Regions from separate parts of the Homo sapiens genome. Here regions 2, 3, 4, 5, 6 and 7 are each linked to region 1. Evidence: promoter capture Hi-C in 16 types of primary human blood cells and fetal thymus (Javierre and others, 2016). All regions are on one chromosome and are shown on one strand. The core of a region is centred on a gene start or on the middle of the fragment in contact, and the rest is flanking DNA. Distances in the headings are between cores, read along the strand shown. Region 1 holds the start of SLK (STE20 like kinase). Region 2 overlaps SH3PXD2A (SH3 and PX domains 2A). Region 3 overlaps CFAP43 (cilia and flagella associated protein 43). Region 4 overlaps SH3PXD2A (SH3 and PX domains 2A). Region 5 overlaps CFAP43 (cilia and flagella associated protein 43). Region 6 overlaps CFAP43 (cilia and flagella associated protein 43). Region 7 has its middle 13 kb from the start of COL17A1.

The links. The method cuts DNA at HindIII sites, captures the fragments that hold promoters and counts their contacts. A CHiCAGO score of 5 or more calls a contact.
Region 2: a fragment that was not itself captured here is called in contact with the fragment with the promoter of SLK in region 1 in 7 of 17 cell types (M1 macrophages, naive CD8 T cells, M2 macrophages and 4 more); the score reaches 9.2 in M1 macrophages.
Region 3: a contact is called between a fragment that was not itself captured here and the fragment with the promoter of SLK in region 1, in 7 of 17 cell types (naive CD4 T cells, total CD4 T cells, activated CD4 T cells and 4 more). The highest score is 8.9, in naive CD4 T cells.
Region 4: a fragment that was not itself captured here is called in contact with the fragment with the promoter of SLK in region 1 in 2 of 17 cell types (non-activated CD4 T cells and total CD4 T cells); the score reaches 5.9 in non-activated CD4 T cells.
Region 5: a fragment that was not itself captured here is called in contact with the fragment with the promoter of SLK in region 1 in 1 of 17 cell types (activated CD4 T cells); the score reaches 5.1 in activated CD4 T cells.
Region 6: a contact is called between a fragment that was not itself captured here and the fragment with the promoter of SLK in region 1, in 16 of 17 cell types (total B cells, naive B cells, activated CD4 T cells and 13 more). The highest score is 11.4, in total B cells.
Region 7: a contact is called between a fragment that was not itself captured here and the fragment with the promoter of SLK in region 1, in 9 of 17 cell types (activated CD4 T cells, total B cells, fetal thymus and 6 more). The highest score is 8.5, in activated CD4 T cells.

What each region holds. Positions count from the first base shown.
Region 1 is chr10:103,965,054-103,969,415 of GRCh38, forward strand. It overlaps SLK (STE20 like kinase), which reads left to right and starts at 2,087. Exons shown (of 19, transcript NM_014720.4): 1 at 2,087-2,842. The coding sequence starts at 2,693. LOC102724351 (a long non-coding RNA gene) reads right to left here and starts at 1,992. Exons shown (of 5, transcript XR_007062282.1): 1 at 728-1,992. RefSeq lists silencers at 1,949-2,408, 2,449-2,498, 2,509-2,608. The HindIII fragment of the contact is 5,644 bases long and covers 1-4,362 here.
Region 2 is chr10:103,711,682-103,716,043 of GRCh38, forward strand. All of the region lies in intron 5 of SH3PXD2A (SH3 and PX domains 2A), which reads right to left. Among named protein-coding and RNA genes, the nearest start is that of SH3PXD2A-AS1, 33 kb to the right of the region's middle. The HindIII fragment of the contact is 8,786 bases long and covers 1-4,362 here.
Region 3 is chr10:104,206,575-104,210,936 of GRCh38, forward strand. CFAP43 (cilia and flagella associated protein 43) reads right to left here. Exons shown (of 38, transcript NM_025145.7): 6 at 1,091-1,250. Among named protein-coding and RNA genes, the nearest start is that of MIR609, 10 kb to the right of the region's middle. The HindIII fragment of the contact is 9,235 bases long and covers 1-4,362 here.
Region 4 is chr10:103,741,787-103,746,148 of GRCh38, forward strand. All of the region lies in intron 3 of SH3PXD2A (SH3 and PX domains 2A), which reads right to left. Among named protein-coding and RNA genes, the nearest start is that of SH3PXD2A-AS1, 2.8 kb to the right of the region's middle. RefSeq lists an enhancer at 4,038-4,362. The HindIII fragment of the contact is 5,889 bases long and covers 1-4,362 here.
Region 5 is chr10:104,158,365-104,162,726 of GRCh38, forward strand. It overlaps CFAP43 (cilia and flagella associated protein 43), which reads right to left. Exons shown (of 38, transcript NM_025145.7): 25 at 3,953-4,039; 26 at 3,597-3,677; 27 at 2,673-2,798. Among named protein-coding and RNA genes, the nearest start is that of SFR1, 38 kb to the left of the region's middle. The HindIII fragment of the contact is 3,887 bases long and covers 359-4,245 here.
Region 6 is chr10:104,138,733-104,143,094 of GRCh38, forward strand. CFAP43 (cilia and flagella associated protein 43) reads right to left here. Exons shown (of 38, transcript NM_025145.7): 33 at 3,549-3,661; 34 at 2,110-2,269. Among named protein-coding and RNA genes, the nearest start is that of SFR1, 19 kb to the left of the region's middle. The HindIII fragment of the contact is 2,048 bases long and covers 1,488-3,535 here.
Region 7 is chr10:104,096,789-104,101,150 of GRCh38, forward strand. No RefSeq gene overlaps it. Among named protein-coding and RNA genes, the nearest start is that of COL17A1, 13 kb to the left of the region's middle. The HindIII fragment of the contact is 1,596 bases long and covers 1,405-3,000 here.

The sequences.
Region 1 (4,362 bases), core at 837-3,336:
ATCTACTTTTGGCAATTTATCCTAAGGAAATAATCAAATATGTGGAAAAAGATTTGTGTACAAAGATATTTATCCGTATTTTATTAAAAACAGAGGAATTATAATCTAAATATCTCATAATGGAAGAGAACAATTATTAATTGTATTGAAATATGCGAAGTGCAGGATGCAAACCTTTTTATGTAATACAACCTCAACCATGTTGAAAAAAGTTAATGCACAACCAAAAAAATCCTGTTTTGAAATATAAGTTCTTATCAATGGTTGTGTCTGGATAGTAGAATTATAGTACTTTTAATTTAATTTTATTTTTTAAGCATTTCATTTTCTCCATAAATGATAATAATTACAAATAATTATAGTATTGTTTTCACAGGTCTATACATTTGTCAAAACATATAAAAGTGCACACTTGCAGCAAACCACCATGGCACGTGTATACCTATGTAACAAACCTGCACGTTCTGCATGTGTATCCCAGAACTTAAAGTATAATTTTAAAAAAAAGCAAACAAGTACTAGCAAAAAAACCAAATGCACACTTTAAATATGTACAGTTTATTGTATATCAATATATTGCAATAACACTTAAAAAAATAGAAGGATCTCAAGGAATTGAATCATCTTAAGCGTCTTACTGGAAGGGGGGTTTTGCTATGCCATTTTGGGGCTGAAGGGCAAAATGACTGGGGGGGCAGACATTATATAAATAGCAATATATACATACATTGTCTCTGCTCCAGATACCGCCATTCATTCATTCATTCACCAGATCTGCCTTCCTATTATATGCCAGGAATGTTGCCGGGTACTTGGATATCTTGATGAACAACAAACCACTGGCCTGAAAGAGCTCCCGTCTGGTGGAGGAGGGGAAGGTAGGTCACCACCTGACGGATTCCAGCCAACGTCCACACTGCCCCACCAGGGAGTGCTGCCCAAGGGGGCTGGAGGCAGATCAGGAAGTGGGGGCCTTAGCTGAGGTGGAGTCACCAAGAGTGACACCAGGTTTACAGTTGTGGAGGTGGCCAGAAGTTAGTTTTACCCTCAAGGGAGTGTCGCAGTCATCAGTTGAGAAGTGGGGGCCCGGCGCGGTGGCTCACGCCAGTACTTTGGGAGGCCGAGGCGGGCGGATCACGAGGTCAGGAGATCGAGACCATCCTGGCTAACACGGTGAAACCCCGTCTCTACTAAAAATACAAAAAAATTAGCGGGGCGTGGTGGCGGGCGCCTGTAGTCCCAGCTACTCGGGAGGCTGAGGCAGGAGAATAGCGTGAAGCCGGGAGGCGGAGCTTGCGGTGAGCCTAGTTCGCGCCACTGCACTCCAGCCTGGGCGACAGATCGAGACTCCGTCTCAAAAAAAAAAAAAAAAAAAAAAAAAGAAAGAAAGAAAAAAAAGAGAAGTGGTCTTAAACAGTTTTTATGTATCTGTGTCTATCTTGCCTGCACACTTAAAACAACAAGAGTAAGAACTAAGATTGAGCGTTTACGGGTGCAGGGGCCGCGCAAAGGGCTTCCATCTATTGTCTCATTCACAACCTTCTGGTAGGGACTATTAGGATCTTCATTTTACGGCGAGGAAACCGAGGCTCGGAGAGGTCACCTGCCCAAGGTCACAGATCTCTCTCTCCAAAGCTCAAGCTCACAACCACCACACAAACTCCCCTCTCACTGTACCTGGGGCCCGTCTGAGAGCGAAAAAGTCCGCTTTCAGGTCCCAACCCTAACAGGTCCGGCTTTCACTCCACAGTTTTTCCCAGATCCAGAATGGAGACAACATCCGCTAGCACAATCAACAGGGTCGTCCCACGGGGGCCGCTCCATCAAGGCCGTGGACTGACAGGATTTGGGGCTTGGAGGGCAAATGAGAAACAATCGTCAGGGACCGAAGAACAAATGCGTCCATCACACCAGCCCCCCGCACCCCGAGCCCCGTGCTCCGCTCACGCGAACCCTCGGGGGCAGCCAGTCTGAGGGACGTAGCGCGCGTGCGCGGGGCCAGAGGGGACGCCCCCACGCGAGCGCGCGGTGAGCAGGGCGCGTGACCGGGCGGGCGCGCAGCCGGGAAAGCGCGCGGGCGCGCTACGGAGTCGGCGTCGGCGCGCGCTCCAGGCCGAGGCTGTGTGGGCTGGGGAGGGAGACAGGCGGCGGCGGCGGCGCCCCAGACCCGAGGGGACGCGCGGGCCTTGCGCCGCGGGAGCGGACGGCGGCGGAGGAGACCCTAGGCTCGCGGCCCGAGGCGGGAGGGCTCGGCTTCTCGACTGCCCGCCTCCGAGGCCGCCGGCCGCTTCTCTCTCCCAGAGTGGCCGCCGCCCCTGGAGACTCGCCGTGACACGGGCCTAAGCCGCCGCCGCGGGAGTCCTGACCGCTCGGACCCGTCGGATCAGGCCGGGTGGGAGCGAGCTTGCGGGCAGGTGCCGCTCCCGGAGGGTGGGCCGGAGGCGAGGCGCCCACCGCGCGGCTCGCGGGCCGGGCTCGGCGGAGGGGCCGCTCGCGCAGCACCCCCACCGCGGGCCGGAGCCCGGGTCGCCGCCCCGCCTTCTCCCGGGACCGCCCGGCCGGAGCTGCGGGGGCCGAGGGACGCCGCGCCCGCCGCCGCCAGCCGGGCTCGCGCGGGAGAGCAGGGAAGAGAAACTTTGCCTTTTATTGTTTTTAGTCCTTAAGTGCAAGGAACTCTGTGTTGGGAGGAAAAATGTCCTTCTTCAATTTCCGTAAGATCTTCAAGTTGGGGAGCGAGAAGAAGAAGAAGCAGTACGAACACGTGAAGAGGGACCTGAACCCCGAAGACTTTTGGGAGATTATAGGAGAACTGGGCGACGGAGCCTTTGGGAAAGTGTACAAGGTAAGAGGGGGAAAACGGGAAGTTGTACTGCGAAGGTAAAACAGCCACTGGCCTGGAGTGGCGGGAGGACTTCTGCTCCCCTGGTCCTTATCCTGTCCTTCTTTTGACTGTTACGGTTCGATGCAACTTTACTTGGCTGATCATCCAAGGAGTAGCTAAGAAGTCGGGTTTACGGTGGAACAAAATGGGGCCTGGATGGAGTTTAAAGAGCGATTGGAAAAGGAGACAGGGTTATAAAGTCTACTCTTTCAAACTTCAAAGGAAATGAGAGTGTTCTTTAATTTATAGGAGGGGTCTGGTTGTGCCCTTCAAGTATTTTAGAATGAGAAACTCATTGCACTTTGCAGTGGATTTGTCTACTGACTGCATTCGCGTGCATGCTTGTACTCCAACAGTTCTGTTTTTAGGGTCCAGTATATATATTTGGTTGTATCTAGAGCTAATACAGAACTAGTTGGGATCAAAGTGATTGCTACTTGCAGTCTCTTCTTGAGTTAGTTGCTTGACAGCATACTATAAAATAGAATGGAATTTCTGACAAAATTTCCAAAAAACCTTCATGTGGTACTAGTTTTAAATATATTTATGGTAAGCATTGACTAGAAGTCAGTATCAGCGCTTAAGCAGTTAAAAACACACACGCATGTATTTATTTCAATAGAAAGAGGCTTGGCGTTTCAACCTGAAGGCATTAATGTTAACTATTTAATATCTCCTAAGGAACATATGAATGATGTCATTGGAGTATTTTCATCCTGAAGGGCGAATTTTTTATGAGACAGCGTTTAGGGGAAGGACCCACAGGGTTGCCTAGAAGTGAAAACGTAAGAAAATAACTTATGTTTATACAGGACTTTGAAGTTTTTAAGTACTTTCAAATAATTTGGCCCCCACAAAAATCTTGTGAGGTAGGCAGGTCAGTATTAGTATCCACATTTCACAGATGAAGATATTGAAATTGTTCACAGTCACATGAGTCTCAGCCTAGACTTGAACTCAGGTCTTCTGAGCCCATATTTAGTATTGTTTTTTATTTTAACAGTCACTGGTAGAAATGAGAGCATTTTGCCTACTACTTTCTTTTTTTTTTGAGACGGAGTTTCGCCCCTTTTGCCCAGGCTGGAGTGCAATAGCGCGATCTCGGCTCACTGCAACCTCCCCCTCCCGGGTTCAAGCGATTCTCCTGCCTCAGCCTCCCGTAGTAGCTGGGTTTACAGGCATACGCCACCATGCCCGGCTAATTTTGTATTTTTAGTAGAGACAGGGTTTCTCCATGTTGGTCAGGCTGGTCTTGAACTCCCGACCTCAGGTGATCCGCCCGCCTCGGCCTCCCAAAGTGCTAGGATTACAGGCGTGAGCCACCGTCCCCGGCTGCCTACTACTTTCTAAGCACCATTACACTTCTGCCTCTGCCCTGCCTCAAATGCATCTTGTCAAAACCCCAGTCCTCATTCTTTATCCAGGCTAAAATATCTACTCCTCTCTGTGTGCTTTCAGAACACGTTGTTCACATGGCTATT
Region 2 (4,362 bases), core at 1,107-3,606, 250 kb before region 1:
CATGTCCTCCCCTCACACAGGAGCAGAGGGAAGGGATACCAACAGGTCTCCAAAACCTGGAGTTTGGAAGAATATAAAATGTCCCTCTGGTGGCCAGGCATGGCAGCTCACACCTCTAATCCTGGCACGTTGGGAAGCCGAGGCGGGAGGATCGTTTGAAGCCAAGAATTTGCGACTAGCAGGGGCAACAGAGCCAGACCCCGTCTCTACAAAAAATAAAAATAAAAAAATTATCCTGCCATGGTGGTGTGTGCCTGCAGTCCCAGCTACTTGGGGGCTGAGGTGGCCTGGGACGTCAAGGCTGCAGTGAGCCACGATTGTGCCACTGAGCTCCAGCCTGGGCAATGGAGAGAAACCCTGTCTCAAAATTAAAAAAAAAAAAAGGAAAGAAAATAACCCCAAAACCTCCCTCTGGGATCTTTTAAGGGAGATGGAACTGCTCTAAAATTGGATTGTGGTGATGGTTGCACAACTGTAAAAGTATTAGTAATCAATGAATTAATTGTACACTTAAAACAAGTACATATTATAGCATGTAAATTATACCTCAGTAAAGCTGTCTGGGGGAAACTCTCCCTCTGGCTCTGACCACTGAGCCATGCTCCGGGCCACATGTCCTGGGTGGGGTTTTGCACGTAGCCATCTGCGTGCCCTCTGGACCCATGACCAAATGGGCCATTCATGAGAGAGGGTGTGGGAAGCCAAGGGCTCAGTCTGTGGTTTGGGAGCGGGAAACCTGGTTTTCTGAGTGCTTCTAGAACCGGTTTCCCTGTGTCTGTTCCATCAGAGGAGCCTGTACCAGCCAGGCAGCACCCCTCCTCAGAGGCCTGAACCCTCCTGGGATAGGAAGCCCCTCCTTGGAGCTCCTGAGGCTGGGGGAAGGGTCTCAACAGGCTGCCCTGGGGGGCCTGGACCAGACTTGGCAGTCTCAGCAAACCTTGTACCTTTTCAGGGATGTGGCCCAGCAGGAAACCTGGGTTCCCCTTAAAAGATCCCAAATGTGGCACATGCCTTCAACTCTACCTTCAGCCCCCGTGGTGACCATGGCAACCATGGCGTCCTGATGCAGTTATTCTGCCCTTCTGTCTGATGAAGGGTCCCATCCTGAAATTTGGAGCTAGTTGCCCCAGCCAAGGGTCAGGTGCTTCTCACTTCATCCTCAGCTCACCCCCGTGTGGGGTGTGGACTTGGAGCTGAAGGGCAATGGCATGAGTCCAGCCTCTGACACTTCCTAGCTGAGAGGTAAGTCAACCAGTCTCAGCCTAAGGTCCCTCATCTGCAGAAAGGAGCATGGGCCTCCCTGGATTGTACGGATGCTCAAACAAGATAAACCATGCTCAAGGGTCCAGCACGGCTTTAGTACAGCATCAGCCAGACGCTGGGAGCTGTAATATCCGATATGGCCATGGGGTGGAGCCAGATACACATGTATCTCATGAACCGAGGGCTTCAAAGTGACCCAAAGTTACAGACGTGCCCAAACTCCAACCACCCTCAAGATCCAACTTACAGAGCCTGTGAAGGGGAAGGAGTCACAAGGTCTCTGGATGCTTGTCCCTTTCATCTCGGACTATGTCTATGAATATCTCCCATTCCCACAGCCATCCAGCCCCTCTCTAGATCCTGACTGTTGCATGCTTGGACCACTGCAATAGCCAACTGGTTCTGCTAGGACCTCAGAATGTCAGAGCCAGGAGATAGCCCAGAGACCCCTAGGTTCTGCCCATTTACCTGATGCTGAAGTGTAGCGATTGTTAATGACTGCCTCAGGCCTATCTCTTCTTGGCCTAGCCCTAGCCAAAAATCCCTTACTCTCACGGAAGATGAAATTTCTTTCAATCCTTGAAACACAATCTCAGGGACTCCCTCTGGCCTGGATGCCCTCCTCTGCCACTCTCCTTGAGTAGTGAGCTCTTGCTTTAGTCTCAGCCTGAATGCCACCTCCTCAGGGAGGCCTTCCTGACCACCTCAGCAGGCTGGTTTGTTGCTGCGCAAGGCCCTGCACCTATTACAATCAGTTGTTCTTTTTCTGTCTTCCCCATTATCAGCAGCTGTTATAAGCCCTGTTTTATAGGCAAGGACATTGAGGTTTTGGGAGTTTAAATAATTCCCAGGCCACACAGCAGGTGGGGGAGGAGCCAGGGTTTGCCAGAGCCTATAATGGTCTGCTGCCTCCTGTGGAAGCAAGCCAGGCCCATGCCATGCTATCCTCCCCCTTAGACCACCAGGGCCCCGAGAGTGGGGACTGAGCTACTTCTGAAGTCCCGGGCCTCACATAGAGATGATCTAGAAACACTTGCATGAACACACGCCTCCCACAAGAATGCAACAGAGGAAGGCTGGTCCCAGTGGCCGAAGACCCAGGTTCTAGGTTCAGTTCTGCCTTAAACTCCCCATGGAGGGGTAACTACCCAGGGACTAGGAACATGGAGGGTAGTGATAACCACAGGGGAACCAAGACCCACCTTGAACACAACATAACAGCAAAGCAGGCCTCAGCGCTCTTCCAGGGCTTACCCCTTCCGCCAGAGGCTCCAAAGGGCTCTGTAGGCCTTCCTTGGGGGTAAGAGAGTGGGCACATGGGGGTCTTGAGGTTTCAGAGAACATAGAATGCACAAGCCCAAGAAATTAATGGGGGACCCAGTCTACCCCCACACACTCCTGCACCAGGATACCCTTCCCTGCCACCTTCCTCCCCACCCTGAAGAAAATCCTGTGCCAGGCCTGAAAACAGAGTCATCTTCTCTCCCTGGACATGGGCCTCCCAGGCGTGTGCGCTATGAGCTGGGCTGGACTGGGGGTGTTTGAATCTGCTTCCCTCCAGCTCGCCGACCCAGCATGACAGCTGAGCCTGCAGAAGTCCTTGTTCCCCACGGCCAATGCCCCTTTCAAGTGGGTTGGACACAGCTTCCTGTGGGCATTTTCCTGCCACCTGCCCACCCAGGTTGAAGGGGGCATGGCAGGGGATGGACAAGGTTTATTTATCTAACGTTCTGTTCCCTCCCTCAGCCTCCCACAGCTCCAAGGTCCAGCTGGCCCTCCTGCCCATCAACATAAAGAGGCTATTTGTGCAGCAGCCAGTGGCAGGGGGCTGCAAGGACAGTGTGGCCCACGTCCCTGGCCAGATGGGTGGTGGCAGGGCTTTACAGAGCACACAGAGCCATCTTGATGATAGGTGTCTGACCAGAATGCAGCCAGGCATGTGTGGGTGGACTTTCTACCCCAATCCCCCAGGAGAGACAGGGACTTGGGATGCCCTGGAGTTTCCAACAGCCTGCAGGGTGGTAGGGGCAGCCTCGCTCCACAGGCAGCACCAGCCCTGGCCAGGACTCCCAGAGCAGAGAGGGATGCGGTGAGATGCTCCTCTCCCAGCTCTCACCTTCAGCTCGGCCAACCCAATTCCATTCCCCCAGCCTTTTTGGGGTGGCTGCTCTGTACCCAGGCCTGGGCTAATGGAGGAAAGGAGAAGAAAAACAGAAAATCCCATTTCCTGAGCTTTTGTGATGGGTTAAGTACATAGGGGCATTTTCTACGCATTTGCTCCCTTGAACCTCACAATCATTTTGCCACATGTACCACGGGGGCCTTGCACAGATGGGGAAACAGACTGGAAGAGGAGAAGTGAGCCATTCAAGCTCACAGGCAGAGCTGGGTGTCCCCACAGTTGCCACTGCAGTTAATTTAACTCAATTCACAATTTCAGCTTTGACCCTTGAGGTGATTAGCCTACGCGGTCCCTGGCATACAGCTGGCACTCAGTAACTACCTGCAGAGTGAAGGGAGGCTGCTGTGGAGAGGTTCCAGGGCTCTGTCCACAACCTTCCATTTGCCTCCTAGGAAAAGGAAGGGAGTAGGAGGGTGTATGACTCAGTGCCCAGTTTGTGATCCACACGCATCATCCCAATTCATTCTCCCCAGTGCCGGAGCAGTGACTCCGGGTGACTTACAGAGAATGGAAGGCCACGCAGTCAACCCACAGCAATGCTGCTGGTGAGCAGGGAAGCCTGGACTCTAACTCAAGAGGCTGGCAGCCAGACATAAGCCGAGCAGTCGCCCTGCCTTCCCGAACAGGCCAGACCTGGCATTCGACTGGGATTGGGGATGTGGGGCTCCTGGAGGAGACACCCCACATTCTCAGTGCTATTCCAGCTGCACTGCCACACACACCACCTTGCCCCTCGTCTTCCTACGGGAACCCTGAAGCAGGGCTGGCAGAGTTCATCTGTCCTCCTGGGCTCTGCTTCTCCCAGGCAAATGGCAGCAACAACCTCTGTCCCCCTCACTGGACTCCCCACAATTTTACCATGCAGTCCAAGATGAAACAACCATCCCCAAAATATAAATGGGAGGGGAGGATGAGAA
Region 3 (4,362 bases), core at 781-3,280, 240 kb after region 1:
AGGCAATTTGACAGAGATAAACTGCATAGATTGGGTCAGATGTAGATTAAGGTCAGTGAAGTCCATCCTAAAGTTGTTACAGAAATCAAGGTGTGAAATAGTAAGAGCAATTGAAATAGAGAGTGCTTTGGACAGGTTTGAGGAGCTTGTCTTGGCAAGGCCCCCTCCTCCCAGGGTCTACATCTACTGCTCAATGAGTGGACAGTGGCTCCTGTGGCCCAGGCCCAACCATGGCCACAGCTGATAGGGTCAGGAATAGACACTATATCTAGGGCAGAATAGATCAGGTTATCTTTCAAATTCTAGCTGAGCAATATGGCAGGGTGTGGTGGCTCCTGCCTGTAATCCCAGCACTTTGGGAGGCCAAGGCAGGCAGATCACTTGAGGTCAGGAGTTCAAGATCAGCCGGGCCAACATGACGAAACCCCATCTCTACTAAAAATACAAAAATTAGCCAGGCGTGGTAGTGTGTGCCTATAATTCCAGGTACCTGGGAGGCTGAGACACGAGATCGCTTGAACCCAGGAGGCGGAGGTTGCAGTGAGCCAAGATTGCACCACTGCATCCTAGCCTGGGTGACAGAATGAGACTCTGTCTAAAAAAAAACCAAAAAAACAACACCTCTAACCGAGCAATAGAAAGGTAATTTTCAAGATGGCTTTTGGGCTTAACAGATGATCAGCCTGGAGAAAAGGGTTGGGGTGGGGGCAGGAAAGGGTATGATTAGCAGACTAAGCAGAATGGGCATATGTATAGAAAAGGATACAGCACAGTAGCCAAGAACTTGGACTCTGAGGTATTATTGCCTGGGTTCAGGTGTCAGCTCCACAGTTTACGTGGACTGGGCCATGTTTCCTAACATATCTCTTCTGTATCGTGGAGATTAAGGTGTCTCTCCTCATAATGTTGTTCTGAGGATTACATGAAATATGCATATAAAGTGATGGTAGAATGCCAACAGCACAGTAACAGCCAGAGGATTAAGAAGAAGGAGGATTCAAAGATGTCTCCAAGAAAGAGAAAAATAGGGAAAACCAAAAAAACCAACACCCATGGCTATACAGGAATATGAAGTAGGACAGTTTCTTACCCAATGGCGATTCCTCTTCTATCTTATTAAGTACAGTCACTTGCAAGGTGTCTCCATTAATCATTAAAAGATGACCCTCTTCACAGCCAATGTACAAGTCACTTGTTGGAGTCCAGCAATGCATAGTCGGGTGAAGCAAAGGATATAGATCATCTTTCGGCTTCAGGGAGAGAATAAAACCTTGTGTTAAGAAAACAATCACGGCTAAAAGCCTGAGAAATACTCACCAGAACAACTGACAAAAAGGAACCATACTTAACCCCATAGACGCAGAAAACATAGGAACATTGAGCATTCATCATAATAATTTTTTTTAAGGACAGACTGACTTTAATTTATTATTTGTACCTTTCATGCCCTCATAGCCTTAGATAGTTAGAAAATAAATAGTTGGGTAACAATCTGGTCACCCAGTGGATCAAGAAAAAGGCAAACCACCTTTCCCACTCCAAAAAATTAAACTGCTGCTGAATAGTGACACTTCTGTGGTGTCTGATTGAGATTTGACTCATAAGGAAGAGAGTTATTCACCGTTATCACCATTATTGAAAAGTTTCCTGAGTTTTTTTTATGACATCTAACCTTAAACTATAAATCACAAAGACAGACTTAACTGAAATGACAATAGGATCAAAATCTTAAACAAAACAACAACAAAACACCATGTCTCTCATTTGCACAATACCAGTGAATCTGTGTGTATAAAACAAAATGTGAAGATTAAAATTTGAAATTTTCTGGCCTTGGTATGTTAAACTAGTATTGTATGTGGCTTTTTTTTCTTTAAGACAAACCTGGGCTTGTCTTCCTATTACTTTTTCATCAATAAATATATTTGATGACATTTAAAAATGAATGTGAGTATATGGATTATGTAAGCAGAAACAATAGTTTATAATTCTGAGATATTTAAAAATAAAGGGTACCAGTAGTGTTTAGAAATGTTTGTTGATAATATCATCTCCTTTTTCAGTCCTCTAGAATCAGAAATCATTTTGATCACATGATGACAAAACATGAAAAATTGCAGTCCAATTTAATCCTGCTTTAGAAAATGTAAAAATCCATATATATTTCAAAATATTTGAGTCTCTAAAAGAGATTCCTATTTAGCAACATCTGTTTGAAAAAATTAAAAAGGTAGATGGAAAATAGAAATTAGACACTTGAGATTAAGTTCATGATCTTGGATCCAATTTCTGCCCAGATAACATCTGCCTTTGATTTCCCCCATGCTACGACTTAAAACTGGATACATTTCTAACGCCCTAAATAAGTTGTGTAATGTGACTCAGGGCTATTTAAAGTCCTGTAATGTACCCTTCTGGCATTAGCTATGAATAGATAATGGGATTATTTGATGTTTGTAATTTTTTAAAAGTCCACAACTTATCCATTTTTAAGACCTTATACAGATCGAGTCATTATTGATTCCCTTGCCATTGGTACCCAGGTCACAAGAAATGACATTGAAGGAGGGAATAGAATCAAGACATTTGAGATCTATTTTTGGTTATGCTTTCACTCATTGTACAGACATTAATTAATGTTTTAAACATTTTCCTCACTTTATTTTGCTACAAAATGAAAAAGTAAACTACTGGGAAAATGTCTAACTTAAATACAAAATATATGGCTTTATTAATAATCCATGAATGATTTAGGGTTGTCAAACTATAATATTACATTTCTGCTTTCAGAAAAATTTAAAATACACTGAGTGCACAAGTCCTAGGAAATAAAGATGTCTGCCCAGACAATATATCCACATAGCAAAACTGCAGGCGTACCCCTTAAATTTATACAAATAAAAAAGGTTTTAAAATAAAGATGTCTATTATGAGCATTTTAAAATAATAACTCCACATTTGAGTATTTAAAGAAGGCATTTCATAGCATTTCTCAAATGACAAGGACAATTGCCTGAATTTTAAATGTTTTATGCAGAGTTCGTTATGTTTGTACAAAATGTGAAATATAAGGGCTCCTACACATATTTTCTGCCCAGAAAAACCCAATTTGAGAGAGTAGAAATTTAGGGGCTCTGGCACCAAATACTAAACATAGAAAAATTTGAGTTGCAAACCTTGATGGCTGATCTCTTTGTTCTTCCTTTGCTGCCCCACTGTGGCTGAATGCAGTTATATCTCCAAGGCTGAGACCTGTGCTATAAAAGGAACTACAGTATCCACAGGGGATGGGTTCCAGGACCCCCCACTGATACCAAAATCTGTGGATGCTCCAGTTCCTTACATAAAATGGCATAGTATTTCCATATAACCTACATACATCCCCCTGTAAATTTTTTCTTTATTTTTAATTATTTTATTTTATTTTTTCTCCCATATACTTTTAAGTCATCTCTAGGTTACTTATAATACCTAATACAATGTAAATGTTTTATAAATAGTTGTTATACTATATTGTTTAGGAAATAACGAGAAGAAATAAAAGTGTGTATATATTCAGTACAGATGCAACCATACAACTTTTTTCTGAATATTTTTGATCTGCAGTGGGTTGAATACACAGAAGTGGAACCCACGAATGCAGGAGATTGACTATAATCTCTTTCCATAATTTAAAAAGGTGAATCATTGACATTCATTAGAGGAAATATTAAGGGCATGTAACCCTTTCTCTTGCTTGCCACAGAGATTTTTGAATGAACTAATCTTCACACTGAATTATTTTTATTTTAGTTTAGCTTAGTTTAGTTTTTGAGACGGAGTCTCGCTGTCACCCAGGCTGGAGTGCAATGGTGCAATCTTGGCTCACTGCAACCTCCGCCTCCCGGCTTCAAGTGATTCTCCCACCTCAGCCTCCCGAGTAGCTGGGATTGCAGGCATCTGCCATCATGCCCAGCTAATTTTTAACACAAGGGTAAAGCATAGCAGGTTCAAGAGGGCCAAAAAAGTGGAGCTTCTCCCTTCATCCCAAAGGTCTTGCAGGTGCTGCCCTCTGTTCCCTGCCTGTCTCTTGAATAGCACCCCACACCTCACTTCCACTTCATTTATCATGCTCCAGCCATATGCATCTTTTCTCAGTTCCTTACACATACCAAGTTCTCTTTTTCCCTTAGGGCCTTGCACATGCAGGTCCTTCCACGTGAAACACTCTTTTTTTTTTTTTTTTTTTTTTTTTGAGACGGAGTCTCGCTCTGTCGCCCAGGCTGGAGTGCAGTGGCGTGATCTCGACTCACTGCAAGTTCTGCCTCCCGGGTTCTCACCATTCTCCTGCCTCAGCCTCCCAAGTAGCTGGGATTACAGGCG
Region 4 (4,362 bases), core at 1,024-3,523, 220 kb before region 1:
AGGTGGGAGGCAGTTGTCACCTAAGGCTGCTGGCACAAATTACCACAAACCCAGTGGCTTAAAATAACAGGAATTTGGCAGACCATGGTGGCTCATGCCTGTAATCCCAGCTGTTTGGGAGGCCGAGGCTGGAGGATCGCTTGAACTCAGGAGTTCAAGACCAGACTAGGCAACATAGTGAGACCCTGTCTCTACAAAATGCTATAAAAAAAATCAGCCGGGCATGGTGGCGCACGCCTGTGATCCCAGCTACTCAGGAGGCTGAGGTAGGGGGATCGCTTGAGCCTGGGGGGTTGAGGCTGCACTGAGTCATGATCGTGCCACTGTACTCCAGCCTGGGTGACATAGTGAGACTGTCTCAAATCAAACAACAACCCAGGAATGTATTCTCTGCCAGTTCTGGAGGTCAGAAGTCTGAAATCAAGGTGCCAGCAGGGTCACGCTCCCTCTGGCGGCATCAGGGAGAGTTCTTCTGCACCTCTTCTAGCTTCTGAGGGCTCCAGGCATCTCTTGGCTCGTGGCAGCATCACTCCGATCTCTGTCTCAGTCTTTACATGGCCTTCCCGCCCCATGCCTGTGTCCCACATCTCCTTCTGCCTTTCTCTTATAAGAACACCTGTCACTGAGTTTAGTGCCCACCCTATATCCAGGATGATCTAATTTTAAGATCTTTGATTACATCTGCAAAGACCCTTTCTCCAAATAAGGCCAGATTCACAGGTTTCAAGGGTTAGGACTTGGATATATCTTTTTGGGAGCCATTATTCAACCTACCGCAGGGTAGTTATGGGAGAGTCACAGGGCATACCAGTCACCTGACAGGGCCCTATATCCCTAAGCGGATTTCAGTGGCCCCAAGGACAGGGGTGGTTTCTATACTCCCTGAATCCCTGGAAATGTCTGGCATGGCGCTGGGTGAAATGGATATGAGTGCAGCCTGAAGCCCTCGTGGGGGACAGGGGAGTGTCTGAACAGAGCAGCTCCGGAGTCTCAGCCTGAGAGGAGACAGGCAAGCTGTGGGGACCTGAAGCCGAGAGAATGGGGGGGCGGGTCCTTCTCTGGCTCTGAGGGCTGATGTGACACCCAGGAGAGAAGAGACGAACAGATTTCCCAGATGAACTGGAGGAAAGAAGATGTGAGGATTCCTAGAGGGAACCTCCCTCCCCCCCTCAAGGGTGACACGCATGCTCGTGGGGTGATAAGACACAGGCAATGCATGTGGGAGGAAGGAGGAGAAGTTAAGTTTCCTACTCCCACAGCTCTCTGTGGTCCTGAGACCTGACCAGGTCCCTGTGCAAAGTGGGCTGGACCAGCCAAGGATCCCATGTCCAGCTGCCCTCACCAGGCGCCTCCATCCGTGTTGTTTGCTGACAGATTGATGAAGACAGAAGCTCTTAAATGAAGGGCCCTGGGCAGGGGAGGGCAGAGAGAATATAACCATGATTCCACTAATGGGGCTTTCTTCACCATTAAAAACAAAACACAAACGACCCCTCTTTCATTCTAAGTCTGTTTGATTTCAGAGAGGCTGTTACCAACCCCCAACTCACCGAGTCACTGAGGCTCGGTGATCCAAGCTGGTCCAAGGAGAAGCAGACTGGGACTCTTTTTTTGTTTGTTTTTGAGAGAGGATCTCATCTGCCACCCAGGCTGGAGTGCAGTGACTCTATCATGGCTCACTTCAGCCTTGAACTCCTGGGCTTAAGTGATCCTCCCACCTCAGCCTCCGAAGTAACAGGTGCACACAACACCCGACTACATTTTTATAGTGATGGGGTCTTGTTATGTTGCCTAGGCTGGTCCCGAACTCCTGGTCTTAAGTGATCTTCTTGCCTCAGCCTCCCAAAAGGCTGGGAGTATAGGCCTGAGCCACTGCACCTGGCCCAGGCTGGGACTTTTGATGGTTTAAAGCAAGCAGACACCAAGAGGGTATGCCCTGGGCCCTAAGAATACCCAACTCTAAAAACAAACAAACTCACAATCTACTTCTTTGATGCCTGAGATTGCAGAATCAGAATTTAGTTTCTTTAAGATTTTCGTCAAGATATATCAACTTTTTCCTGGAGAATGGTACAGTGAGCCTTATTAACCATTCACACCTGAGTATGAGCAGGCACCGGCTTCTCACTCAATAACAGGGTCTCGCTAGGGAAGAGAGCATAGAGCAGAGAGGCCTTGATGGAACTGGATGTAATGGGCAGGGGAGAAGAACGGCGGAACAGCCTCTACTGGCTCCCCTGTCTTCCTGAAAGCTGGCCCTGCTCTTGATGTTCAGCTGTTTCCTGACCATGGGGCCACCCAGCTTTCACCTGGGTTAGCCCTGCCTAGGCTAGGGTGGGAGTGGCTGAATGGCAGGCCCCTGCTTGTCTTTTTTTTTTTTTTTTGCGACAGAGTTTCGCTCTTGTTGCCCAGGCTGGAGTGCAATGGCATGATCTCGGCTCACCGCAACCTCCACCTCCCGGGTTCAAGCGATTCTCCTGCCTCAGCCTCCCTAGTAGCTGGGATTACAGGTATGTGCCACCACACCTGGCTAATTTTGTATTTTTAGTAGAGATGGGGTTTCTCCATGTTGGTCAGGCTGGTCTCGAACTCCCGACCTCAGGTGATCCGCCCGCCTCAGCCTCCCAAAGTGCTGGGATTACAGGCATGAGCCACCGCACCTGGCCCCTGCTTGTCTTTTTAAGTGCTGCCCCTGAAACTCACATGTCACCTCTGACCCTCTGCAGCCTGGGGACTGCAGGTCACCTCTTCCCCTGCTGGGCTGCCTCCAGCTTCTGGTGCAGCTGAGATGACATCCCCAGAGTCTACAGCCTTGTACCTGGCTCAGATCACACCCTGACACCCAATCCTTCCTTCTTCACTTGCAACATCTGGCTTTGTTGCCATTTACTTGGGCTGGGGGAAGGCAGGAGTGAGGCCTAGATGCTGAGGCTGGAAGCAGTGGGCACATGCAGGTTCCGGAAAGACACAATCCCCATAGCGAAGGTCAGCAGCCTGAGGCATACTGACACCATGCCCTGAGTTCTGGCTCCCATGAATCTCTCTTTAGAGCCAAGATGCTGCCTCTGGCTTGAAGTCTAGCATGGTAGACATTGGTAGGTTTTGTCTGCCAGCTTTTAATTATTACAGTGCCCGATTTTCTTTTGGGAAACAATCCCTCCTTCATTCTCAGTCCATGGGATTTCAGTGGGGTTGATCCCATCCCAAACTCTGGGGCTGATCATTAAGTACAGTCCAGCCATGGGCATGCAACCCACATTGGTCCAGTGGGAATCAGCCTGGGACTACTGCTGGAACTACCAGGAAGAGATGTGTTCTCTCTCTACAGCTGCTAACTCATAAATGCCAAGCCCCAAGCTGCTAGGAAGCATCTTTATGTATCTCTGTTACCACCTGGGGGAAGCCTATCAGAGAATTAAGTCAACAGAAAAGACAGCAAAGCTGAGGGCTTAAGAGACACAGATTTGGTCCCCTAGATCCAGCTATGCCTGAAACCATTACTCTTGGTTTTCAGTTATGTGAACCAATAAGTTTCCCCTTTTTTCTTAAGCCAGATTGAGATGGGTCTATTTCTTGTCACCAGGAGAGTCCTGACTGGTACATCTGGCTCTGCCAGTTACTGTTATGTGACAGGGGATGAGTCATAACCTATTCGAATGCTAGTTTCCTCAGACTACAAAATGGGAGGCAGTAATGTCTAATGCAAAGGACTATTACGAGGAGCCAGTGAATGAGTCTGTAAAAGCATTTAGCATGGAGCCCAGCCCATGGCAAATGGTGAACAAATGGGATCTCTTATGAGTTGACACTTCCAGGTCAAGGAGGTGGGATGGGGTGGGGTGGGCCCTGCCTGTCTCCTTGCTGGCCACGTGGAATCCAAGTACCAGAAGCATTTCCCAGGCACCCAGTCCATCCACCTGGCTTCCCACCAAGGCCAAACACGAGCTCCCCTCAGCCTGCGGCTGCCCTTCCTGATTCACCCAACCCATAAACACATCTGTGTCTCCCACACGGCTTCCGTTTCTCGGAGGCCCAACTCAGAGGGCAGAGGACGTGACACAATGGCAAGGAGGCCAATTGTTCATTCCACCCGCCCCCTAGGGGCATTCTAGGGTGACTCACACAGGTGTGTCTGCCCGCTCCAGCACTCCCCACTCCCTCTCCCACACGCCCAGGGAAACACACTTGCAAAAGCCCACTGGGGTTCACGACAGAGTGAAGCCTTCACCCTCCTGCAGCCACGGCTTGCTTGCAGAAAGCATCAGCGCACCTTGGAGGGAAGAACGATCTCCCAAATTCTGGTTCGGAGGTTCCCATACCCAGTAAGCAGAGCCAGGCTGAAGGGAACAGTATCTTTCTCTC
Region 5 (4,362 bases), core at 1,052-3,551, 190 kb after region 1:
AACAGTGGGACTGACTGAAATCTGGAACCTCCTGATACGATGCACTGAAGACACAGCATCATCTACTTAGTATGATTGTCAGAAATACTGCACCTAAATCTAATCATGAGAAACCAATCAAATTCAACTTGGGGGACATGCCACAAAAAAATAAGCCTCGATTTTTAAAAAATGTCAATGTCATGGAACACAAAGTTGTAGAACTGTTGTGGATTAAAGGAGACTAAAAGAACATTACAAACTAAGTGAAATTGATTAGATTTTTTGATAAACACCAATAAAAAAAGTTATGAAGGACACTACTTGGACAACAGGGTAATCTGAATATAGACTTAATTAGATAATCATATTAATATTAAGCTTCTTTTGTATGATAATTTTACTGTGGTTATGTAGAAGAATATTTTTGTTCTTAGGAGGTTTAAGCTGTAATATTTAGGAATATCATGATATCTGTGATTTGTCTCCAACTATTCAGGAGAAAAAGAGAACAAATGTGGCAATATAAAAAACTGATGTGCACAGGTATACATATACAATATATATATAACATATACGTAATATATATGCCATTGGTACAAATATATGGTATATAGATGGTACTATTCATGTAACATTTATGTACATTTGAATAATTCTAAAATAAAAATTGGTGAAAAAAATAATCCAATGTTAGGGAAGTAAGTGGAGGTATAAAATGAATTAAGATTGGCCGTGAGTAGATAATTGCGGAAGCTGGATAAAGGGGTCATTATACTGTTCTCTCTATTTTTATACATGTTTGACATTTTCCACGATACAAGATTTTTTTTTTACTTGAGAGAGAAATTGAAAACCATCAACATAGATTTTTTTGAGTTTTGCAGTAAAGGAGAGCAGAGACATTGAGTGATCCAGGGGGAAAGAGAGGCCAAAGGAGTTGGGTTTTTTCCTTTTACTTTTTGTTTTGAAATAAATTTATACTGACCCAAATATCACAAGAACAGTAGAAAGAACTCAAGCATTTCCTTCCAGGAAGTATTTTTTTAATAAGATGAGAGATGTATACAATTATAGCATGTGTCTACACTGATGGGGAAAATCCACAGGGTGGGAAAAATTGATGATGCAGGAAAGAAGAGGGTAAACTGATGAGTAATGACATTGAGTAGGTGAGATGGGATGGTGACTAGTGCACCAGGAGAGGACCAGGCTTAGGTGGATGCAAGGCCATTTCACCCATAAGAAGCAGAAAGGCAGACGCCATGGATTCAGTGGAGCTGGCGGGTGGATGCAGCAGTAGAGGAGTAAGGGAAATAACTTTTAGTTGTCTCTCTTCTCTTAGTAAAATAGAAAATAAGGTGAGAGTGAGTTGAGGGCGTCAGGTGTTGAAAGTTTGGGAGATGCGCAACGGGTGTGAAATGGTACTCTAGGATCCTGCTACTTAAAGTAGGGTCCACTGGACAGCAATAGCCTATTTGGAGTGCAAAATCTCAGCGTCCTTCCATTTTCACAGAGAAACAATGAAATCAGAACCTGCATTTTTAACAAATCCCCCAGGTGATGCAGATTCGCATTCAAGTGTGAGAGCACTTGGCTAGGGGAAAAATGGAGTAGCATTGCGGACCAGCTCTAAGGACCCAGTTGAGATTAAGGTCATAATTTTGAGTAAACCCAGTCAATAGTTTTTCTTTAGCCACTTCATGGGTGCAGGTGCAGAGAAGGCAGAGTATCAGATTTAATCAAGGCTGGGGTTTCAGCAGGTGAGTACAAAGAAGGTGCAGGGACATGAGGGTGCAGGCAGTGGACTATCTTACAACACAAAACTGTGGAGTAAATGTAGTTGATAGGTCATCAGCCTTTATTCCTTAGGCATCTATACTCCATAACTCTTTGAAATCTTTACTTCTTTCAGTATTACTGATTTTGGCTTTGAGTAAGAACCATTTTAGGTTAAAATACAAGGGACCCTACAGGGCCACAGTGAATAAAAATGTGGACAGGTTCACAACAGATTCAAAGAAGCTCTTCATGAGATACAGCCACTAGCAAGCTGGAAAGCTGGCCTACCTTGAATGATGGTATGACTTTACTTCCTTCTTAGAAGAATAAATATTATTTACTTGACTGCACATCACCGTCTTTTATATCTCTACTGTAATTGTGAGCAATTTTAATGTGACAGTGTTTCCTTCTGATGGATGGGGATAAAAGTAGCAGAACTGCACTGTAAAAACCTTGAATTTGAGTTGTAAATAATGTACTGCATTGATTATGCCATTTGTTATTCAAACCTTTTTCCTGAGATGGAGAACAAATCAAGCAAAAGTATTACTGAATTCAAATAAATGTACACAACACAGAGCAATACCTTGCCGTGACTTGAACATGTTGTATTAGGGGTTCATTGAACACCTGAAGAATGAATGAAGGGCCAAATGAATTGTAATGACACGGGAAATGCTGAAATCAATAACAGCTTTAAAAAAACTATTGCTGTATGTTTCTTTGCTTTAAAATTGGTTTAATTCCTTAAATTTATCTCCACTTACTTCTCCAAATTCTCTTGAGAATTTAAGCTGAAACACTGTCCTTAAGCTATTAAAGATATCGACAAAGTAGAAAACATTTGAAAAGATATTTAAACAGCACTCTGGATATGGTAGGTTATATTAATTATTTGCTCTTCTGACCTTTCTATACTTATCTCTTTCTTCATTTAACTCCTTTACTTTTTTCTCATAATCTTTGAATTGTTTTCTTTCTTCTTCAGTCCACACAGCATCAGGTTTTGCCATGAAAGCAGGTTGAGGAATCACCTGAAGATATGAAGAAAAGCATATATTTCAGCTCAAACGTTAAATGCAGTAGTACAGTAAAAGCTCAGAGTTTTTTTTAAAAAGCCCTTTAAAAGGATACAGTCCTTCACATTGGCAAGGAAAACGACCTGACATCTTGGGCAAAAGATATTTTAAAATTTTACAACAGTTCTTCTGTGACTTAGGTGAAGGTGAGCAGGGTGGGATATACCTGGACTCTTAGGTGATAGACTCAGAGGGGTGTGTTGGTATCTTTATAGTGAGAACTACCCCTGAGCCCCAGGAAAACCTATGTCAGGTATCAAAGAAAATGTTTCCTGGTATATCTGGATAATTACTGATGAAACAGTATTCCTGCCTTCAATAGAGACCAAAACCACTGTAGTTACTTATTTTTATTGATTTGTTTGTGTCTTGTCAGATTGGAAGGCAAACCTGCATTTTCAAATTTATTATCTGTCTAACGTGGTATGTTTTTGGTTTTCTGAGACAGGGTCTTGCTCTGTCTCTCAGGCTGGAGTGCAGTGGTGTGATCACAGCTCACTGTAGCCTTGAACTCCTAGCCTCCTGCCTTGAATTCCTGGCCTCCTCACTTAGCCTCCTCAAGTGCTGGGATTACAAGCATAAGCCACCACGCCAGGCCCTAATGTGGTAGGTTTATAAGGTACTACGGAGGTTGTATAATAGTTGTTGCTGTAGAACTTCTAAAACCCAGGTTTATATAGGACAAAAATGGTAAAACTTAAGTAGCTCTTTCCACCCCATTCCACCTTCTATAAGGATGAACAGAAATATCACCATTCTCAAAATATCTTCCTTCTTGACTTCCAGAACTCCTCCCATCATGTCCATCAGAGCTCGGAGTCTTGTACTGGCATCCTGGGAAAGAGCCAGAATCAGAGAGGAATACTGAGACAGAGACCTGACATTCCAGGTGGCTCCAGAGGCAGCTTCCCACCCAACATTAGAATGACTGCATTTGGGATTGGGGAAGGTAGGTAGTGCCTGGAGGAGAGAAGGGGAAAGGAGGCCAACTGAGATTCAAGTGACCTCTGACCACGACAAATGTGTTGATGGGTTATTAAACCAAACTAGGAAGCAGTATCCCTAAAGCAAAGAGGGTCTTAGGACCTGTGTTAAGCAAAGCTACATGCCTGTATCAGAAGCCAGTGCTCCTTTTCATGATTCACGATCAATTCTTTGGCTTTGTGCCACGGCTTAATGTGTTTGTGGGCTGTAATCTGAAAGAGAAAATGTCATTTCCTGCTATTATTCTTACAAAATTCAAACTAAACTTTCCTTCCACATACTGGGAGGAGGCTGGAAGATACTAAGGGGATTAAAGGGACTCTGCAGACTTTGCACCCAATTTTCTGTTTTGGAATAAGATGAGGTCTAAAATGAGAGAGTTGGAAAAATAGATCTTTACTTCTCTATTAACTCTCAAAGCTTGTGTCCACCACTAAAAAGATTATAACAGGGAACCTGATAGATTAAGGAGGGGAGGGAGGGGGGCTCAAAGAAGTGCCATCTAAGCCAAATTCTGAAGGATGGGGGTCCTAAG
Region 6 (4,362 bases), core at 1,262-3,761, 170 kb after region 1:
TCCTGGAACAGAAAAATGACCTTAAGTAAAAACTAAGGAAAAGTGAATAAAGTTTGTACTTTAGTTAATAATAATGTGTCAATATTAGTTCAATAGTTGTGGCAAATGTACCATACTGATGGAAAATAATAAAATATAAGAAACTGGATAAGGGGTATATGAGAATTCTCTGTACTATCTTTACAACTTTTCTAAAACAAAAATTTTTGGAAAGGATAGACAACATGCATGAACAAATGGGGAATTTCAGCAGAGGGATGGAAAGTATAAGTTAAACAGAAATACTAAATGTAAGTCTATCTATCTGTCTGTCTATCTATCTATCTATCTACAATAATATGGTAACAGATATTTTGCCTTTGATGGGCTCATTATCAGACTAGACACAGCATAAGAATGAATGAACTTGAATATAGGGCAATAGTAATTACCCAAACTGAAACATAAAGAGAACAAAGAGTGAAAAACAATGAGTATGGAATATCTAAGAGATGTGGAACAGTATCAGACAATCTGACACGTGTGTAATTGGAATCCCAGTAGAAAAAGAGAGAGCGAAAGGGGCAGAAGAAATATTCAGAGATAATAAATAAGAATTTTCCAAAGATAATGACAAATATCAAATCACAGATTGAGGAAGCTCAGAGAAGCTCAAGAATCTCACGCACACATGTGCATACCGCCCCCTATCCCCACCTAGACACATTGTGTTCAAACTGCTGAAAAACAAATAAAAAATCTCAAAGCCAGACACATTAAATTCAGATGAACAAAGATAAAAAATATAGCAGAAACCTTGTCAGAAACTATCTAGATGTTCAGAAGAAAATGAACATCTTTAAAATGAAAAGAGAGAGAGAGAGAACAAATGAACGAACCTGGCAATCCAGTGAATCTAGCAAAGTATCTTTCAACAATGAAGGTGATTAAAAACTTTTTCAGATAAAGAAAAATGGAGAGAATTCATTACTAGCAGGCTTGTACTTCAATTAAGTTAAAGGAAGTTCTTTAAGCAGAAGGTAAATGATACAAGATGGAAATTTGGATCTACACAATGAAATAAAGATCTTTTGAAATAGTGAAAATTAAGGTAAATAGAAAATACCTCTTTTCACATTTTTATTATTCTAAAAGATAATTGTCTAAAGCAAAAAATAATAGCAATATGTTTTGTGTTTATAGCATTTGTAAAAATAAAATGTACAGTAGCATTATCATCTAATTCCCAAATAGCACAAAATCCGCAAATATTTAGAAATTAAATAACACGCTTTTAAATAACCCATGAATCAAATAGGAAGTCACAACAGAAATTAGAAAATATGTAAAAGAAAATTAAAACACAAAATATTAAAATTTGTAGAATACAGATAAAATAAAGCTTATAGGGAATATTTTTTTAGGACTCAATTATACCTAAAGCTTATACAGAAATAACATTAAATGTTCATATTAGAAAAGAAGTAAGGTCTGAAATCAACTAACTAAGCTTATCTAAGATTATCTTTGCCTGAGTAGGCTGGGCCTAAAAAAACGATGGCATACTAGAATGGACATTTAGCTCTGTGATCCTTCTTGAACCTTAGAATTATGGAGGGAGCTTTTAAAAAATACTCATCCTGGGGGTGGGGTCTGAGCACATTTATAAAGTTCTTCAAATGATTCTAATGTGCAACCACAGTTAGGAAACCACTGACTTAATTGAATTAAAATTACTTATGAAAATGGGAGAATAATGTAAAATATTTGGTACAGCAGGCAATATGTTTTGTCTTTAAACAAGTATAATTGGCCAGGTGCAGTGGCTCCTGCCTGTTAATTCCAGCACTCTGGGAGGCCAGAGCAGGAGGATCACTTGAGCTCAGGAGTTTGAGAACAGCCTGGGCAACATATTAAGACTCTGTTTTTACAAAAAACTAATTTTAAAACAATTAGCTGGGTGTGGTGGTGTGAACCTGTACTCCCAGCTACTTGGGAGGTGAAGGTGGGAGGATCTATTGAGCCTAGCTAAGGGTTAAGGCTGCAGTGAGCCATGATTGTGCCACAAGACTCTAGCCTGAGTAACAAAGCAAGACCTTGAATTAAAATAAAAATAAAAAGTATAATTACCCGAATCACAGAATTCAAGTCTTCAATTATGTTCTTGTTGATGAGAATTGCATCAGAATACTCCAGTACTAGCTGGAAATTTTCCAGTTCTACTTGTCCTTGTTTAAGAAGAATTTGGATTGTCAAATTCAACTGGAATCTCACTTTCTCTTCCTGTAATCTGAATTGAAAAGTACTTCAAAGCAAGTAGTTGTAATATATTTCAAATTTCACCTATTATCTGAGAATATAAAAATCGAATCAGCTTAAGGAAAACATGCTGGAGATTAGTGTGGAGAATATTTTCCTGATGATGAGCTTTCCTAGAGGTCTCTCTGAAACCTCTTCCTATTGATGCAGAATTATACCTGGGTTGCTCAAAAAATGGTATGGACAGAAATACATTTATAGATTTTTACTTTAGGATTAAGAAAAGATTGTATAATTTTGACGGTAATAAAAGTAAAGTAAAAATGAAGAAAATAGAGACACTTTTAAATAACAAATCTGGCCAGGCGCAGTGGCTCATGCCTGTAATCCCAGCATTTTGGGATGCCGAGGTGGGTGGATCATCTGAGGTCAGGAGTTCGAGACTAGCCTGGCCAACATGGCGAAACCCCATCTCTACTAACAATACAAAAATTAGCCAGGGGTGGTGACAGGCACCTGTAATCCCAGCTGCTTGGGAGGCTGAGGCATGAGATCTCTTGAACCTGGGAGGTGGAGACTGCAGTGAGCCCAGATCGTGCCACTGCACTCCAGCTTGTGTGACAGAGTGAGGCTCCATTTCAAAATAAATAAATAAATAAATAAAATAACTCTATTAAAATTCTGAACTTATTTATTGATTTCTGATACTATACTAACAATATTTAATATGTAAGTTACTTAACAAATCTATTTCTGGGTAATTCATATCCTCGCTATAGCCTAGATCTAAAAATGATGTGTTCTCAATGAATTTGGGAACATCAGAGAAGTATTTATCGATGAGGCTATAAATATAGCCAAAAAATGAAGCAAGGACTTAAATATCTTAATCACTTAGTAAACAACAAGTTCCCCTAAAGAAAAATATATCAGTTGGCTGCGTGTCTACATGGAAAGTTCTTAGACATCTGCTTAATTTTCCACATGGTTAGCTTATATGCCTTGAGCCCCAAAGTACTGAAAAACAGGTTCTTTGTATTTTTATGTGGAAGGGGCCGACTTAAAACAATACTAAGATTTTTCTGAAACTTGCTTATTTGTAATAAGAGCAACAAAACGTGGGAAAGTTCCATCCTGAATCAAGGTCTATGTAACAAAGCAGGCTTTTTAAAATAGAAATTTTAAAGCACAGTGCTGGAAGGGAGATGGCTGTAAAGCAGTCAGTAGGCATTCTCCCCAGTGATAACACAACCTGATTTAGCCCTAATTAGACTTTGAATAGGTGAACATGAAAGAAAGCTTCAAATTACAGGATGAGTTCATGGAACACTCTCTCAATCTCCTGTTGCACCTTCTCTTCCTCCTCAACTCTCTTCTGGAGGAAAGTTGCCATTTCCAATAAGTCAGCTGCTTTCTGCTTTACCTAAAGAAACCAAGCCAGAAACATGTCAGAACATATGGAGCTTCAATTTTAGACAACATACATCTTTTAACTTTTTAAATTTAAAAACCTTAACAGGTCTATCTTTCGAAGAAAGTAATAAAACATTTAAATTTAAATGTCTAAAACTTACATGGTATGTAACAATTTGAACGATTTGAAAGTATCAAATTTGCTTCTTGGTGAAAATCAAGTATGCAGGCAACTATAAATTCTTTTATATCTTATTTTTAAAATTTGTTCTCATCACTTTAAGTGAAATTATAGAATCCTAGGTACTTTAACAAAAATATGCCAGCCTGATGCATGTGGGCATTAAATTTAGGGAATTTGGGGTAGTGGTCAAGAAGCAACAAGAGGAAGGATTCTCTTCCCAAATAAAGACCCTCTTAAATTTTTACTCGTTGCCACATTCTAGCAAAACTATAAAGTTGGTTCTGCTGAGCCAAATATAATTCTAATCTATGCAAAATGAGATAACCTACAACAGTGCTGTCCAAGAAAAATATAACGTGAGCCATAAATGTGAGTCACATATGTAATTTTAAATTCTGTAGTAGCCGCATTATAAAAAGTGAAATCAAAGAAATGAACTTAATTTTACTAATATATTTTAATTAAATGTATCCAGAATATTATCACTTCAACCTATAATCAATATAAAAATATTAATGAGACATATT
Region 7 (4,362 bases), core at 953-3,452, 130 kb after region 1:
CTGTATTCTTTGTTATATGTGGCCACTAAAGTCTTTGCCCAGTTAGGTCAGTGGTCAGTTAATAATTGGACAGAGATTTCCTTAAATGCCCTGAACCAATAAGTCTCTGAATCTTTGCCAAGCGATTCTGTGTGCATGCAGGGACACACATTCAAGATTCAGCCAGCCAGTTGACAGCTCTGCCTTAGCCTTTACTTTCTGCTATCACAGAGCCTCAAAGTCATCCATAGGGCCTTCTTAGGTCTTTCCTGAGCATGCACACAGCCCTAGATATGTACACGTCTATGCATGTACATGGTCTTCTAGATTTCCAGAAATATGTTAAAACTTTTAAAAGCCACTATGGATATTTTATCCCCAGTTTTTCCTTTTAAACTTTTTGTTTAGCCTCTTATTTCCCTCAACTGTTATCGATTTCCTTGGGTAGCCACAATGTTAGACAATTGCATTGAATTGTTTTTGACAAATGCCCCACGGAAAAGGCTTTTCACACTGAATGAGCTCTGAGACAGGTCAAATAAAGACAATCTTGTAAGTGGAATCTTCCAAAGAACCACCAGACGGGTCAAATAGTGACAGTGCTCTGTGAATACAGTTTTGAAGGAACTCCGACCTCATTCTGTCCACTCCAGTGGCTGCCAGCCTCCTGCTTCTCACCATGATTGTGGGCTATTGGTTTTCAAAGATACCACAGAGTTGAGAGGGAATGGAATAGGGCAAGTTAAAATGCCACAAAGCTTGCTGCTCTTACTGAGCCATTTTCCTGAATAAATACTTCCCAGGTTGCTGCAAGACTTTGGTTAATTTTCGGAGTTCTGAAAAAGTTGTTGTGACTATTTTTCCCACTTCCCCCCATTACTTCACAGAAGAGAAAATATTAAGAGGTCCTTGGCTAGGTGTGGTGGCTCATGCCTGTAATCCCAGCACTTTGGGAGGCTGAGGTGGGTGGATCACCTGAGGTCAGGAGTTCGAGACCAGCCTGACCAACATGGTGAAACCCCATCTCTACTGAAAATACAAAAGTTAGCCAGGCATGGTCGTGGGCACCTGTAGTCCCAGCTACCTGGGAGGCTGGGGCAGGAGAATCACTTGAATCTGGGAGGCAGAAGTTGCAGTGAACCGAGATTGCACCATTGCACTCCAGCCTGGGCAATAAGAGTGAGACTCTGGCTTAAAAAAAAAAAAAAAAAAAAAAAGGTTCTTACTCCATCATTTTCACTGATATAACTCCTATGGATTTATTTACTTTGTTTTATTTTTATTTTCTGGAGACAAGGCCTCTCTATCCATTGATTGGTTTTTGAATGTAGAATCAACCTTGTATTCTCTGAATAAATTGCACTTGGACATGACACATTTTCCTTTTAATATATTGCTGCATTTTATTGCTGATGTTTTACAAAAAGCTTTTGTGTCCTTGTTTATGAGAGATATTGGTCTATAGATTTTTCTTTCTTGTAAATTTTTTGCCTTATTTTGGTCAGGATAATAATGGTCTCATAAAATAAGCTGGGAATTGCTCATTTTTCCTTTATTTTTCTGGAAGAATTTGTGTAGAATTGGTATTATTTCTTTCTCAAAAGTTTGACAGAATTTTCAGTGAAGCTATCTGAGCATGGGATTTTATTTTCTAGAAAGATTTGACCTACAAATAAAATTTTCTTAATAGAAGCAGAATTATTCAGGTTATCTATGTCTTTTTGAGAGAGCTTTGATGGCTTGTGTCTTTCAAGAGCTCGTCCATTTCACTGAAATTATAGAATTGCATCATATGTTCTATTTGTTGCAATATTTGAGATGTATCCTCTAGGAAAGACATACACACAAGTTAGGGCGATTTACTTAGGAACCATTAATTTCATTTTTTCCCCACAGAATACAAATCATTAGTAGTGTAGCAACAGTAATGGGCTTTGGTCTTAGAGTGAGGAATTGACCAAGAATTTCCAGAATGTTTGGGAGCAGAAGTGTTCAGTACATGTAGCATTATGACAAGGAATCTGTGCGCAAGCACTATCTGTGGACTACGAATATATTATATTATACATTATTGCAATCATAGTGGTTACCTTCCCATTCTGCCCCCAAAATTGTTAATTTTCATCCATTCCTTTTAGTGGTGGATTTAGGAAGAAATGTGACTCATTTGTTGGCCAATGGTACATGAGGAAAAGTGTTTTCAGGATGTTTAGGAGAAGTTTATTGCTTCTAAGGAGAAAAAGCAGAAACAGCCATTTTCTTTTTCAGGACATTGGTACATCTGCATGTGATGTGGACGTGCTAATGCATTACACTCACAAGGGTATCACCACAGTGAGGAGATGAGGATTGAAAACATCCTTGCTCCTCAATGACAACATTGAGAGCCTGAATAAACAACCATGGGACTACCCTACCTCTGGATTCTTTGTGTGTGAGATAATAAACTTCCTTATCATTTAAGCCAATTTGAGTTGGTATTTTCAGTTATTAAATTTGAAAGCATCCTCACTGGTTCATAATAATAAGTAATAGTATGCTCCAAATATATGTAGGTACTGTTATGAATAATAAACACAAATTCATTTAAAGTGTTACTGGAGTTGGAGTAGCGCCCTGGCATTGCCTAATTTTTCAATCAATTGATTACAGAAGTACAAGTTACATCAAAATATATCAAGTTACATGCAAAATATTTTGACTTCACAGAGAGGTATTCACATTTACAAAGGCTGAGAGTGATTCACCCCATATATAAAGACTATAACTTCCTCTTGATAAAGGCCACGTAGACACCCACGACTTAAAAGTACTATGAAGAGATTACTCTCAGAAGATATTAGGAGCTTTGAGAGTAATTTTAGTAAAAGTGGGCATAATTCTAATATTAATATCATAAAATATTAGAGCTCAAGGAGACCTTACAGATTACCTAGTTTGGGTCACCTAGTTTGCAAAATGAGAAGGTAAACTAAATAATGTGCTGAGGGTAGTTAATGGCAGAGTCAGGACTAGTATGAAAGCTTTTTGTTTGCTTGATCGTTTTTCCTATGCCATTCTGTAAAATTGTTTAAAATAATTTTCCAGGCTCTTAGCTATCCTAAATCATGAGGAGCTTAAAGAATTATCAAAAATTTACAGAGCAAATCTATGCCACTAAAATGCTGTGCAAGTTTCAGCAATTCTCAGTGAAATGTGATAGTGATGATGAACTTAAATAGAATAACCCTGTTCTGGTTTTTTTGTTTGTATGTTTTTTGTTTTTGAGACAGGGTCTTGCTTTGTCACCCAGGCTGGAGTGCAGTGGTGTGATCATGGCTCACTGCAGCCTTGACTGCCTGGGCTCAAGCAATTCTTCTCCCACTTCAGCCTCCTGAGTAGCTGGAACCACAGATATGTGTCACCATGCCAGCTAATTTTTTTTATTATTTGTAGGGATGAGGTCTTGCTATATTGCCCAGGCTAGTCTTGAACTCCTGGGCTAAAACAATCCTCTTGCCTTGGCCTCCCAAAGTATTAGGATTACAAGCATGAGCCACTGCACCCAGACAGAATAATCCTATTCTTGATGGTCTTTACCATCCACTCATTCCTCTTGGAAGTAAGAACGAGGCTCAGCTAGCCTATATACTTACAGAATACTTGGCAGCATAGTTAGGATGGCACGTAATAAAATATACTTCATAAGGTAATGTTTTTTGCCATATACCATACATTAATCAGATTGTGTTCATTTCATCAATGTTACGTGAAACAGCAACAGCAGGAAGAGTACCTGAAATGAGATACTAACATTTAAAATAAAATGTTATTATTTTGGAATATCTCAAATCCTCCCTCTTTGGCCTGCAGCTAACATACTTAATTAAATTTTTAAATGAGCTAAATATCATAAACGTTCAATAAGCAATTCTTCTCTCTTCCTAGAACAAACAAGAAGCAACATTAACTTCAAGATAAGTATTTATAATCATCTTGTGGAACTTGCAAGAATATCCTAAATAAGGTTCAAGAAGTGATTCATAACATATGACCATAATTTAAATTACACATTTTAATATGTAATTTTGAAACCAAGTGAACAATCTAAATTGAAAACCTGGAGAAACAAACCCAGACATCACTGGGAAAAGATATCCCAGTTGACTGCAGCTGTATGGATTTACCCCATGTGGAACTCCATGCCAGTGTGCAACGCTGTTTGTTTTTTTAGCAATAACTTGTGAGTAGAGGACAATGTCCTTGCCACAGAAAAAGCACAAAAGGGGAGTTTTCCTTTAAAGGGCTAAAAATGCACCAAGTATTTGTCTTTTGGGTTTCTATTTTTAGTTTGTCTAGGTTAACTCAGGCAGCTGAGGAAGGACTGGGAGAACCAAGCTGTTT